Regions from separate parts of the Homo sapiens genome. Here region 1 is linked to region 2. Evidence: promoter capture Hi-C in human tissues and cell types (Jung and others, 2019). All regions are on one chromosome and are shown on one strand. The core of a region is centred on a gene start or on the middle of the fragment in contact, and the rest is flanking DNA. Distances in the headings are between cores, read along the strand shown.

What was found. Contacts are between HindIII fragments. The study calls those that stand out against the background at their distance.
Region 1: a fragment that was not itself captured here is called in contact with the fragment with the promoter of BCL6B in region 2 in 1 of the 25 tissues and cell types used here (mesenchymal stem cells).

The regions. Positions count from the first base shown.
Region 1 is chr17:5,519,081-5,525,752 of GRCh38, forward strand. It overlaps NLRP1 (NLR family pyrin domain containing 1), which reads right to left. Exons shown (of 17, transcript NM_033004.4): 13 at 2,444-2,706; 14 at 1,801-1,932. All of the region lies in intron 1 of LOC124903902 (a long non-coding RNA gene), which reads left to right. Among named protein-coding and RNA genes, the nearest start is that of MIS12, 36 kb to the left of the region's middle. The HindIII fragment of the contact is 4,716 bases long and covers 1-4,306 here.
Region 2 is chr17:7,018,547-7,025,208 of GRCh38, forward strand. It overlaps BCL6B (BCL6B transcription repressor), which reads left to right and starts at 4,504. Exons shown (of 9, transcript NM_181844.4): 1 at 4,504-4,553; 2 at 5,114-5,304; 3 at 5,537-5,758; 4 at 5,855-6,217; 5 at 6,530-6,654. The coding sequence starts at 5,126. It overlaps MIR497HG (mir-497-195 cluster host gene), which reads right to left and starts at 1,108. Exons shown (of 3, transcript NR_038310.1): 1 at 832-1,108. RefSeq lists an enhancer at 13-182 and a silencer at 3,458-3,597. The HindIII fragment of the contact is 11,810 bases long and covers 291-6,662 here.

The DNA.
Region 1 (6,672 bases), core at 699-3,198, 1.5 Mb before region 2:
CAACCTCCGCCTCCCAGGTTCATGCCATTCTCCTACCTCAGCCTCCCAAGTAGCTGGGACTACAGGCACCCACCACCACGCTCGGCTAAAGTTTTGTATTTTTGGTAGAGATGGGGTTTCACTGTGTTAGCCAGGATGGTCTCGATCTCCTGACCTTGTGATCCGCCCGCCTCAGCCTCCCAAAGTGCTGGGATTACAGGCTTGAGCCACCACACCCGGCCCTCCCGGCTAATTTTTGTATTTCTAGTAGAGACTGGGTTTTGCCATCTTGGCCAGGCTGGTCTGGAACTCCTGATCTTAGGTGATCTGCCTGCCTTGAACTCCCATAGTGCTGCGATTACAGGAGTGAGCCACCACACCTGGCCTTTTTTTTTTTTTTTTTTAGACAGAGTTTTGCTCTTGTAGCCCACACTGGAGTGCAGGGGGGGTGATCTTGGCTCACTGCAACCTCTGCCTCCCGGGTTCAAGCAATTCTCCTGCCTCAGCCTCCCGAGTAGCTGGCATTACAGGTGCCTCTCACCATGCCCCACTAATTTTTTGTATTTTTAGTAGAGACAGGTTTTCACTATGTTGGTCAGGATGGTCTCAAACTCCTGATCTCAGGTGATCCACCCGCCTTGGTCTCCCAAAGTGCTGGGATTATAGGCGTGACCCACTGCGCCTGGCCCATAATGGCCTTTTGACTTGTCTCTCTGCTTTCACTCTTGCCTGCTTATCATTCGTTCTCACCCAGCAGCCAGAGGCATCTTTATGAAAGTAAATCAGGTCTTTTTTTTTTTTTTTTTTTTTTTTTTGAGACAGAGTCTTGCTCTATCACCTAGGCTGGAGTGCAGTGGTGCACTCTCGGCTCACTGCAACCTCTGCCTCCCAGGTTCAAGTGATTCTCCTGCCTCAGCCCCCTGAGTAGCTGGCATTACAGGCATACACCACCACACCCAGCTAATTTTTGTATTTTTAGTAGAGACAGGGTTTCACCATGTTGGCCAGGCTGGTCTCGAACTCCTGACCTCAAGTGATCTGCCCACCTCGGTACCCAAAATGCTGGGATTACAGGCGTGAGCCACCGCGCCTGGCTGTAAATCAGGTCTTGTATTAGCTGTTTATGACCCTCAAAAGCTTGCCATTGCACTTAGAACAAAGTGCAAAGTGCATACCAGGGCCAACAGGGCAGATGAGGCCTGGTAAGACCCTGCCTCTAATCTGACTCATCTTTTGCTATACTGACCTCTTTTTTGTCATCTGGAGGCGTCAAGCTTGCTCCCACCTCTATGCCTCTGCACACATTCCTTCTGCCTGAAATGTTCTTCCACAAATCTCCGTGTGGCCTGAACCAACACCCAATCTAAAGAAAATCTTCGTTTCCTTAGATCTTCCTCAAATGTATGCAACCAAGGCCCAAATCCTATAGCAGATTCTTTCAAACACCCTTTACTGAGACACCCCATGGTTCCCCATAATATGTGTTCTGCCACTGCAATGATTAATAAAGCCAGTATGTTCAACTACAGGTTTGTTCCTGGTGGTCTGGACTGAAGGACATTGATGACCTATAGCCCAAACACTTCCCAGTGCCCCCAAGTCAAACCCCATCATCCTTCACATCCTGCATGTGATCCTCCCTCCTCCGAACTTTCTTTCTCCTAGTCTTGGAAGCATTCCCACTTTCTCTAAATCCCACTCACTTTCTGTTCAACCTCGATTTATCCTGTCCCTGAGAAAGCCCTGAGACCTGCCCCACAGGCATTCATTCCCAGGTAGGACTTCTGTTCGCAGTGAAGAGGCAGACACTGGGCTGCTCACCTTGGGGAGTATTTCCAGCATCCCTGAACCAGACCCAGACACAGTGTAACGACAGCCCATATAAAGTGGGGTCAGCGGGGGTGGCTTGTGGATTCGCACAAACTGGAATTTCATTTCTAGATCATCTATGGCCTACAGAACATAGGGAACAATGATTAAGGGAGGCTTCTGCCCCGTGGAATGTGGTTTGAATAGGGGGGATGGTGCATCTGTGTGTTTGTGTGGACAGAGTGGGGCTATATCACCCCTGCCTCCCTCCCCCCATGCACTGCTACAGAGACAGCCCGCACTTGGTCTTTGATGTCTTCAGGATAGGAATAGGGTTATTGTTAGGGAAGTTAGAATGAGGAAAGGCTACAGTTTTAGGCATGGAGGACTCCAATCCTTTGATTCCTGGACAGGGGCCGTAAGAAACTGTCCAAAGATCAGTGATTGATCAATGAACCTAGCAGGGGGATACCTTGGAGAGGCAGGAGACCAGTCCAAGACTGAGAGGGGACGAATTGTTTGCCCACTTCAAGGTTCTCCTGTACAAGAGGCCCATCCTTGGTCCCAGTTGAAGACCCTCTAGGGGGCTCTCTGGCTGCATTTTGTGTTTACCGTCAACCCACCGTGGCCCAGCCTTTCTGGCTCTTAGTGTCACCTTCCGAATGGAGCAGTCACTTGGGATCAGGTAGAGGTGGAAGGTGACTTCCTCAGGATGGACGCGGTGGTAAAGCAACACCACAGAGGTGACGGGAATGAAGCGCAGGGCATTATGGATCATTTTCAGGAGGACTCCCAAGGGGGAGAAGCTGGGGTTTTCCAGAACTATGTGATGCAGCTCCACCCTGGCTGGCTTCTCCAGGAGCATCCCCTCCTCTTTAAAGTGGGCCATTTGGAACAGGGATGTGTCCACATGGCCCCCTGTAAAAGAATGGATTGAAGAGGCACAGGTTTATTTTTATTTATTTATTTTGTTGAGACAGAGTTTCGCTCTTGTCGCCCAGGCTGGAGTGCAATGGTACAATCTCGGCTCACTGCAACCTCCGCCTCCTGGGTTCAAGCGATTCTCCTGCCTCAGCCTCCCGAGTAGCTGGGATTACAGGCGCCTGCCACCATGCCCAGCTAATTTTTGTATTTTTAGTAGAGATGGGGTTTAACTATGTTGGCCAGGTTGGTCTTGAACTCCTGACCTCAGGTGATCCGCCTGCCTCGGCCTCCCAAAGTGCTGGGATTACAGGCGTGAGCCGCTGCATCCAGCCCAAGAGGCCTAGATTTAGTGTTGTTACTGAGTCAGGATTTGCTGGCACTGTAGGATCCCAGGGCTTAGGCTCAGGTACCCTCTTGGGGGAGCCCAGTGCTATGGTCTTGAATGTCTGTGTCCTCCTACAATTCATATGTTGAAATTCTAACCCCCAAGGTGATGGTATTAAGAGGTGAAGCTTTTATGGGAGGTGATTAGGTCATGGGGGTGGAATTCTCATGAATGGGATTAGTGCCCTTACAAAAGAGACTCAAGGGAGCTTGCTTGTCCCTTCCACCCTGTGAGGACACAGCTAGAAGGCTCCATGTATGAGGAATGGGCCTCACCAACACACCAAATCTGCTGGCGCCTTGATCTTGGACTTACCAGGCTCCAGAACTGTGAGAAACAAATTTCTGTTATTTACAAGCTACCTAGTTTATGGTATTTTGTTATAGCAGCCTGAACAGGCTAAGACACCCAGCATGGGGAAGAGGGCATTTCTAGGCCTGGGGCCTTTGGAGGCTGTGGGAAATTGTGCCACCAGGTGGGAGCACTTAGCAGTGCTGAACTCCTAAGTGGAGCTCAAGGATCACCCTTGAGCCAAACTTATACGCAAACCCAGCCCCTGGCCCTGGAGCTGGGAAAGATATAGAACCTCTAGTTGCCTGTGCTGGTGTGGATTCTCTATGAGAGACCATTGAGTGATGCTGGAAGGTTTGACTAGGCAGGTAGAGAACAAGGAGGAGGAAGGGGCAGTAGGAACATAGAGTGACCAAGGTGTTTGGCCACTCACTATTCAAACTCTTCTTTTTAGGAAGAGCCTCCTCCTCCAGCACTGTGTGGGTCTTGGCAGGAGGCAAGCCAAGCCCCCCACTCAGGATGCTACTACTCCCTGGCAGCAAGGACACAGGTGTGTGACCAAGACTTGACTAAGTGGTTGTCTCTAACTGGGACCTCAAGTCTAGAGGGGTGAAACAGATGCAGAGAGAGAGAATTCTGGCAGTAGCAGTTGGGTGAAGAGTCCAGTGAGAGGCAGGTGTGGTGGTGCACACTCATAATTCCAGCTACTTAGGAGGCTGAGGTGGGCGGATCACTTGAACCCAGAAGTTCAAGGTTGCAATGAGCTATGAGTGTGCTGCTGCATTCTAGCCTGGGTGACAGAGTGAGACCCTGTCTCAAAAACAAAAAACAAAAAACAAAAAACAAAATACCAGAAAGAAAGAAAAAGAGCCCAGTGGCTCCTGGGCAGGAGGGTCCTACAGTAGCTGTCTCCGTATTTTCTGCCGCCTGTCTCCGTATTTTCCTGATGTGACCTTGGCTCTGCCCTTGGTTTCTCTGAGTCATTGGGTCACTATCTTCCCCCCCGCTTAGATTTGTTGCATAACCTTTTGCTAAGTCTATGAGTTAGTCAATAACCTTTCAATGTATCCCTTTTCTGCTTAAATCAGCCAGAATTGGTACCTTTGATTGCAGTCTCTGACCAGCGCCAGGCAAGGACATTGAAGTTACAAGAGAGCTTGAGGGATGAATACTGGTAATGGGAGAGACACTGGCCTAGGGATCAGAGGTCCCAGCTCCATCCCTGCATTGCCTGGTAACTGCTGCAATGCAAGTGGTTTCTGGGCAACAAGGCATCCAGCAAGCTGGACAAAGCCCTTAGTCAGATGTCAATCCCAGAAGGGTCCATGAAGACCATTACTTAAGTTTTGTCATTTAACTGCGTTTTTGGGATGAAAATAAAGTCACAGTGGTATCTATCATCTGAAAAAATGAGGAAGAATTCACCTATGAATCTTACCAATCAAACAATACAACTATTCTTTTTTTATTTTTGACACGGAGTCTAGCTCTGTCACCGAGGCTGGAGTACAGTGGTGTGATCTTGGCTCACCACAGCCTCCGCCTCCTGGGTTGAAGTGATTCTCATGCCTCAGCCTCCCGAGTAGCTGGGACTACAGGCATGCACCACTGCGCCTGGCTTTTTAGTAGAGATGGGGTTTCACCATGTTGGCCAGGCTGGTCTTGAACTCCTGACCTTAGGTGATCCACCTGCCTCGGCCTCCCAGACCGCGCCTGGCCACAGTATAACTATTCTTAGCATGGGACGCCTGCATTACAGTCTTTCTCTGCGGCAACACCTTTTCCTATTTTTATTGTAGTCCATGATACTTTGTCTCTTGTTTCCTGTGACAGTTTAACTTGCTGCAAGGATGTCAGACCATTTAATTACCACAGTATATGATCCCTGCTAGTGGATGCACCACCCTGTGATTCAGCCTGTTTCTCATTTCAGTGTTGAGTTTGCTTCCAACTTTTCACCATGATAAATAGCACCTGCAATGCACATATTCTGCAGAAAGCTTCTATTTCCCTTGTGTTATTGCCTTGAAATCAATCAGTACCAAGGGATGAGGAAAGCGTGTGAGATGGTATGACCTCCTTCACTCCCCAGTTGCTTCTCCAAGAGGCGATGCTGGTTTGCGTTGCCATCACTGGCACTAAATGGATGGTCTCATCCTGACCTCCAAAGCACTGGAATGTCTTCACATGTCAGTTGAGGGAGCTGAAATCCTGGGAGGAAAGTGCTTTTTCCAAGGCCACACAACCAGCCATGGTCCTAGGACCAGATCCCAGGATTCTGACCACAGTCTGGAGCACTAACAGACGCTCGGTGCCACTTGAATTTTTGCTGAATTCCAGAAGGTGCTGGGTGTCTCCAACTTACCTTCTTGCTAGGGTGACCAACTGTCCATGCTTGCCCAGGACCGAGAGGGCTCCTGGGGGTGCAGGACTGTCAGTGTTAAGATGAGCTGGTCACCCCCCTTCTTGCACATACTGCCCTTTCCATAGATTGTGGTAGAGTCACCTCATCCAAACCTGACAGTATATTTGTGCTGATAGATTGGAGAGAGAAGGGAAGCAATGGGGAAGACTGTGGTCTGAAGGAGAAGAAGGTTGAGTGTTGACTGGAGGAAGTCTCACTGGCAGAAAGACCTACGCTGCCTTTGGCTGGTTGCACCAGAAAAATTTAGAAAAAGCTATCATGAGGTAGGCATGTTTCTGTGGGTCTGGGGTCCAGGGCTTTGCATCTGCTTATTACACAAAAGCTTACTGAGTACGGACAATGTGCCAGCCCCTGTGGATGTAGCTGTGAACAGGAAAGACATGGGCACTGCAATTCCAGAGCTTGTGGCCCAATGGGGAATACAGACAGCAAATAGAACAATGGCTCAAAGCATGACAAGTGCTCCGCCAATGGAAGCCTGTCAGCTCCTTCCTCCTTTCCCAGCCGCATGCCCGGTGTTTGCCTTGGGACATTGCTGCTCCTGCTGTCCAGGAGCCTGGGGACTCTCCCTCCTTTAGATGCTGCCCTTGGGCCTGTGGCCTGATGCCTGGCCGTGCCCTTCCTGCTGAGTGTGTGTGGTCAGCACCTTCCAGGCTCAGGTGAGCTGTTGAGGGGCACAGTGGCTCTCCTACTCAAGCAGGGACAGTGGGACCCACATCACATGAAGGTAGGGCACTAGAGGGTTGTCTAGCAGAGCAGCTAAATGATAGGGACTGCCTGGCTTTGACTCCCAGCAAGGGTTCTTACCAACTGTGGGACTCTGAGCAGATTACTTGCCCTCTCTGTGCATCATCTGTAA
Region 2 (6,662 bases), core at 3,254-5,753:
GGGAGCAGCAGAGCCCAGGAAGAGGGCCATCTGGACCTGGGGGGCCAGGTATTCAACCCCCAGTGCTGTTCCCACTCCCCAGGGCCCCTGAGGACCCGAGCCGGCCCCCACAGCAACCTCCATCAGCCCATCCACCAGGCCAGGGCAGGCGGGCCCACCCCAGAGAGCCACGTTTAAGCTGAGACAAACATGCCTCTCCCCACCCCCAACTCCAGGCCTTCCCTCAGCCCTTTTCTCCTGTCCAGGACTTGATTTTTTAAAAACACCCCTCAGAAAGCAAAATCCAAGGGCCAAAACTCCTTTTGCAAATCAAAATATGACCCCCTAAAATCCAGAAGTTATCTTCCTATATCCCATCGCATCTTTTACCACCCCCTCTTCCGACACACCCCCCAAAACTCTTAGCAATCTGAAAGATCCAAGGTGGTGTATGTAAGCAGTCTTTTTAGGCCCCCGAAGATGCCAGACCCCTCCCGGACACCCCTATCTGCCCTCCATCAAATCTTGCCAAGGCCTCCTGCTCCTCCACCACCCTCCATAGCCCCCAAACTAACAGTTGCCCCCAGCTCCTACCTCGGCAGAGCCTTTGTGGGGGGTGAAAGAGAAATTAAACACTATCCTAACGGCTGGGGATGTTGGGGGGCTCTCTGGTCTCAGCCTTTGGTTTCCGTCTGGGGGGCTGCAGTTTAGGGGTATAAGAGAAAGCCTCTCCAATCATCCCCCCAATTCCAAGACTGACAAAGCCAACCCCACCCCAGCACGCACCTCCAAACCTCCCCCCCAACCGCCACGTCTCTCCTGAAAACAGAGGACACTTCCCTCCCCACTTACCTCAGCTACTCTCCCCTGAGATCCTGGTCCCCTATTTTGAAAAGAGCAAAATTTAGGGTGCATCCCTCACATTTGGGGTGCAGGAGAAAGGAGCCGCCCCAGTCGCATCGCTGGCCTCCTTCCTCTCGGCTGGCTCAGGGACTGGGGAGTGCCCTGGGGAGGGGGCACCCCCACAAGAGATCTCAGGAGGGGTTCCTCCACTCCCAGTCAGAATTGGGGACACCCCCCCAAAACCCGTCCCAGCCCATCCGTCTCCAACTCGGCGGGAGAGGCAGCTGCAATGCCCCAGTCAGATTCACCCAACACTACATTCCTCACCCCATCTAGAGGGGTCCCGGGGTCCCCAAAAAATCCCAAAAAAATCTAGGATGTTGGGAGGACGGTCCTGGACTAGCTCCCCAAATTTGGGGTCCTCAGATACCCCCGTTTTTTCAGGAAAATTCCGTCTTTTGCCTGCCTCCCGCCAGCCCTGCTCTGTCCCGATGCCAATTTTGGAAGTCACTCCCTCCTTCCTCCTCCCCGTCTCTCCAGGCCCCCCCCACCGCTCGGGGGCTAGGGTCCAGGACACCTGGCTTCCAGACCGGGGGGAATCACTCCTCAAAGGGCTAGGGGCCAGGAGGTCAAGCTCATTGCCCCTGTCTTAAGGAAGCAGGAAAGCCCGTTCCTCCCTTCCCCTCCCCCCTGGCTGGTCACCGTGGTGGTTTAGGAAAGCCTGGAGGATTGGAATCTGCCATTGCTGTTGCACAGGCAGTTTTTTTTCTTGGGTTGGGGGGGTGGGCGGTGGGAGGGAGAGAGGGGAGGAGGGCCGAAGAGAGAAGGGACCCAGGCGCGAAGAGCTGGCCTGGCTTACCCTGTAGCCCCGGCTGCCGTGGGGAACCCCTCCCCGCCATCTCACCCACACTCCCAGTCCTCTGTCTGCTTTCTGTTTGGGGCTCATCCTAGAAAATCAGGGTGCAAGAATCACCTCCTTGTACCCCACCAGCACCCCTCCTTGCCACAGTTCCAACAGCACTGCCCTGGTCAGGGGTGCCCACTTGGCCAAGGGACACCCCATTTTTCTCCAACTTCCCCCAAACTAAGGGGTGCTCCCTTAAGAAATTGGGATTCAGAGTCTGAAACCGCCTTTTCTCCCTCTCTTCTCCCTCAAGCCACATAATAATAAAAGGAGATACCACACCCTTTCCAAGTTTCTCCCTTCAAATCCTGGGCTTATTTGGGGGTTCACTAAAGAAACTTCTAGAATCTGGGGTGAGAGGGCACTATAAGCAAAAGACATCCCAAACCAGGGTCCAAATTAAGTGAACTCCCAAATCAGTCTCACCTTATGATTATCCCTTAGCTTCACCAAAAGCAGCCAGAGTGACAAAACACCCCCAAAATAAGAACACCCCAGAACTTTAGTCTCCTGTCCTCGCGGCCCTCACCTTGTTTCTCCCCTGGGGAAAAAGCTTCTTGGGTATCCATGGATACACAGGAATACCCCACGTCTTTCCACTTTGTGGAACGTGAGTGTCCACAAGACTCAAATATAAAAGTTTGCTCCCCCCTCCCAGGACCCCCAATCACAGAAAGCTTCGAACTTGCTCCCAGCTTCCTATAATGTTCCACCTCAAACTAATTTTTAAAACTCCAAATTGAACTTATTCCCCAAATCTAATCTGAGCCTTGAAACTTAGATGGCACCCCAAAATAGACTGCACCCCCAAATCAGCATGAGTACTTTGGTTCTGCTGATAGTCCAAGATGACACAGGTGAGCACAATCTCCAAATTGTGGGTGTCAGAACCCCCAGAACTAATGTAACTTCCAAGTCAGCCCCATACCTGAAACTTACCATATAGGCCTCAAAGGCTGAATGCAGCCACCGGTGCTCACAATCAAATCAACACCCCATAATAAACAGACACCCCACAACTGATCAAATAATACTCCATCCTGATGCCAAAGGGAGAGCCCCTAGTCTAATTCTCATCTCCAAGCTGGGCAGAGACCTAAATAACCCTCACATGTCAAAGCCACCTCATCGTCCTGAATTTCCCAGTTCCCGGTTTCTCAGCTGTTCTTTCATGCATTCAAATAAAGACACACTCCGGTCTGAAGGGGAGGGCCCCGGGCCTGATATCCAGCCCCGTGGACCATGGTCGGCCATTCCTGGCCAACTGTACACTCTCCCCAGCCCAAATCCGGGGAGCTTCTGCCTTGCAGCTGGATTCAGCTCTAGCACCCCTTCTCCAAATGAGCTTTGCCTTGCCTGCCCGCAATGTCTCCCGAAACAAAATATGAGGGTGTGATCCATGCCCATCTCTCAGATCAGGGACTTCAAATTAGGGTGGTTAAGCCCCCTCCTGCCCTCTCTCCCTCCTCCTTGTTTTCCCTTCTCGTTTACCCCACCCAATTTTAATGTTCAATTAAAAGTCACCTCCAAAGACATCTGGGTAGCAGTGTCTAGCTTAATTCGAAAAGAAAACCCGGAGTTCCCAGGCTCAGGTCCCGCTTCTTGTCCCACCCATTCCCCTGGCTCCTAAAGCCCGCGATTTCTCACCTCGGGTAGGAACCCCAGCCTGAGGGGAAAGTCCCCTCGGTCTCCTAACTCTAGCTCCCTCCGCCCAGCCCTAGTCCCCTCCTAGGAGACAGAGGTGCAAAATAAACCCGCGCAAAGGGGAGGAGGCTAAAGGTTTCAGCCGCCCAGACCAAATGGATCCTGCGCCCGGGTCTGAGCGCACCCCAGGCCGGGTGGAGACGAGGGGCGAGGCGAGGCCAGTGCTCGGCCGCCCCCTCGTGGAAGGAGCCGCACATTGCCGAGCCTTGCCTACTTGCCGCGCTGGACCCCGGCGTCCCGCCAGCCTCCAAGCGTAGCCGACGGGCGGGTGCCCGAGGCCCTCGTGAGCTGGGATTGGGGGAAAGCAAGCGGGCTTTGGGCGGGAGTCCATCTCTCTGGATCCCTACAAGGACCCAGAAGAGAGTCGGGAGCGAGAGAGGCCGGACGCCTAGGTCTCCCGAGCGTCTCTCGCCCCTCCACCCCCACCTCGGGGCTTTCCCCACCTCCTCGAGGGGAAGCAGCTGGCGGAGCCGTCCGGTCGCAGGACAATGGAAGGAAACCAACTAGAAATCATATCCGCCCTCTCCGTACCCCGCCCGGCCAGAGCCCCCCTTTTTGTAGGCCCGGGTAGAGTAGCCTGTCATTCACACCACACCCTCCCCGTCTGAGACCCTACGGGAGCCCACTGTCGTCTGCCCAAACCTGCTGTCTCGTTGGGCTCCCCCTTTTCTCCCTTAACACAGTACAAGAGAGGGAGAGGGGGTTGCCGTATGCACTTTGTCCTGCAGCAAAGGTTGGCTCCTGGCAAACCCTCCCAAAAGCCAACACACCAATTTTCACTGGCCCAGGCCTTCCGACGACTCAGACTCCCGTATTGCCAACCTCGATATCCCTAACCTCCTCCCCAATTCCAATATCCCCGTCCTCGTGTCCACTTGCAGTGACCCAAGACCCCCTACGTTACGACCACCCCTTGTTTCTGAGGTCCCGCCCTCGAGACGGAGACCCCGCCCTGGACTCGCCATCTGGAGAGCGAGGGAGGAAGGAAGGATACAGACCCAGGCGTTCACCCCACCTCCACCCCCGCCCCCGACATCCCGGCCAGATAAAGGAGCCGAGGCCAAGAGGGGAGAGAGACCCCGCCCCCCTTAAGAAGAGAAGCCGCGGCCCCTGCAGGACGGGGGTAAGAACAAGAGACTGAGGGAGCCAGACTCCTGGGTCCCCCAAGAGGGTAGGAGCTTGTGTGGAGCTTGCCATCAGCGAGCCTGAGTCCCAGAAATTGGGCTAAACTAGGGATTGGGGACTAGATAGGAGTCGCAGAATTCCGTAGTTCGGGGAAGGGAGCCTCGGCTGGGATTTGGAGGTGTGTGGACGGCAGGCCGTGAGATCTCGAGGCAGGGTTGGACACCTGAGACACAGGCGCGCAGAGGGGAGTGGCGGTGCTGGAGGGGCACTGGGGGTCGAACCCAGGGCGATGGGCGCGGGATTCCCCACGCTCGCCAACGACGCCGCGGTGTGGAACCTTCAACTGGCTCCAAGCGCTGTGGGATCTGGAAGAGGCAAGGGAGCGAGGGTGTCGTAGAGGGCAGAATGAACAAGAAGAATTAGGAGGGAGGCTGCGTGTGCCGGGGCTAGGGGCTGGAAGTCCTGGCTCTAGTTGCACCTCGGAAGGAAAAGGCAAACAGAGGAGGGAAGGCGTCTTAGGACTGCCTGGATCCAGAGCACTTTCCACGGCCTCTACAGGCCTGTGTCGCTATGGGTTCCCCCGCCGCCCCGGAGGGAGCGCTGGGCTACGTCCGCGAGTTCACTCGCCACTCCTCCGACGTGCTGGGCAACCTCAACGAGCTGCGCCTGCGCGGGATCCTCACTGACGTCACGCTGCTGGTTGGCGGGCAACCCCTCAGAGCACACAAGGCAGTTCTCATCGCCTGCAGGTTCGAGGGGTGGGGCCTGGGGCGGGGCCAAATGGGAAAGGGGTGGGACCACAGGGCCGTTGAGAGGGAATCCGAAGCCAAGTCTTTCAGAAGCAGGAGGCGGAGCGTCCCAGAATTGGGGGCGGGGTGATAGTGAGGAGGCGGGACTTTTTCAGGGGGCGGGGCTTCCTGAAGCTGCGCATGTCTCCCTTGGTTCCCCAGCCCCCAAAGGACTTATCTGCTCTCTCTCTAGTGGCTTCTTCTATTCAATTTTCCGGGGCCGTGCGGGAGTCGGGGTGGACGTGCTCTCTCTGCCCGGGGGTCCCGAAGCGAGAGGCTTCGCCCCTCTATTGGACTTCATGTACACTTCGCGCCTGCGCCTCTCTCCAGCCACTGCACCAGCAGTCCTAGCGGCCGCCACCTATTTGCAGATGGAGCACGTGGTCCAGGCATGCCACCGCTTCATCCAGGCCAGGTGAGGGACCCTGGCTCGGCGTTCTCTGTGGGTGAGGTGTTAAGGGCAAAGGCAGAGTTTAGGAAATGGCACTAACGTTCATCACACTTTCCCCAGCTATGAACCTCTGGGCATCTCCCTGCGCCCCCTGGAAGCAGAACCCCCAACACCCCCAACGGCCCCTCCACCAGGTAGTCCCAGGCGCTCCGAAGGACACCCAGACCCACCTACTGAATCTCGAAGCTGCAGTCAAGGCCCCCCCAGTCCAGCCAGCCCTGACCCCAAGGCCTGCAACTGGAAAAAGTACAAGTACATCGTGCTAAACTCTCAGGCCTCCCAAGCAGGGAGCCTGGTCGGGGAGAGAAGTTCTGGTCAACCTTGCCCCCAAGCCAGGCTCCCCAGTGGAGACGAGGCCTCCAGCAGCAGCAGCAGCAGCAGCAGCAGCAGTGAAGAAGGACCCATTCCTGGTCCCCAGAGCAGGTACAGAGTCTAGAACCTCAAGAATTTGTCAGAGCTGGCCTCAGCTAGAAGACAGAGTCATTGGGCCTTGATGGTCAGGAGGAAGGGAGATAGGTGGTGGGTTTCAGAGACACTAGCTCACCTTAAGGAGCTGGCCAGAGACCAGGTTTATTCAGCAGGGTGGCACTTGGGCAGTACAATGGATGTGGCTCATTGGTCAACAATATTGGCTCACCCTGAGAGGGCAGGCCTTTGGCTCCAAATTTCCCAGGAGAGAACCCCCACCCCTCAACCGTACAATCTCTTTTAACCCTTTCCTTGCCATCTGCCTAGGCTCTCTCCAACTGCTGCCACTGTGCAGTTCAAATGTGGGGCTCCAGCCAGTACCCCCTACCTCCTCACATCCCAGGCTCAAGACACCTCTGGATCACCCTCTGAACGGGCTCGTCCACTACCGGGTAAGAGC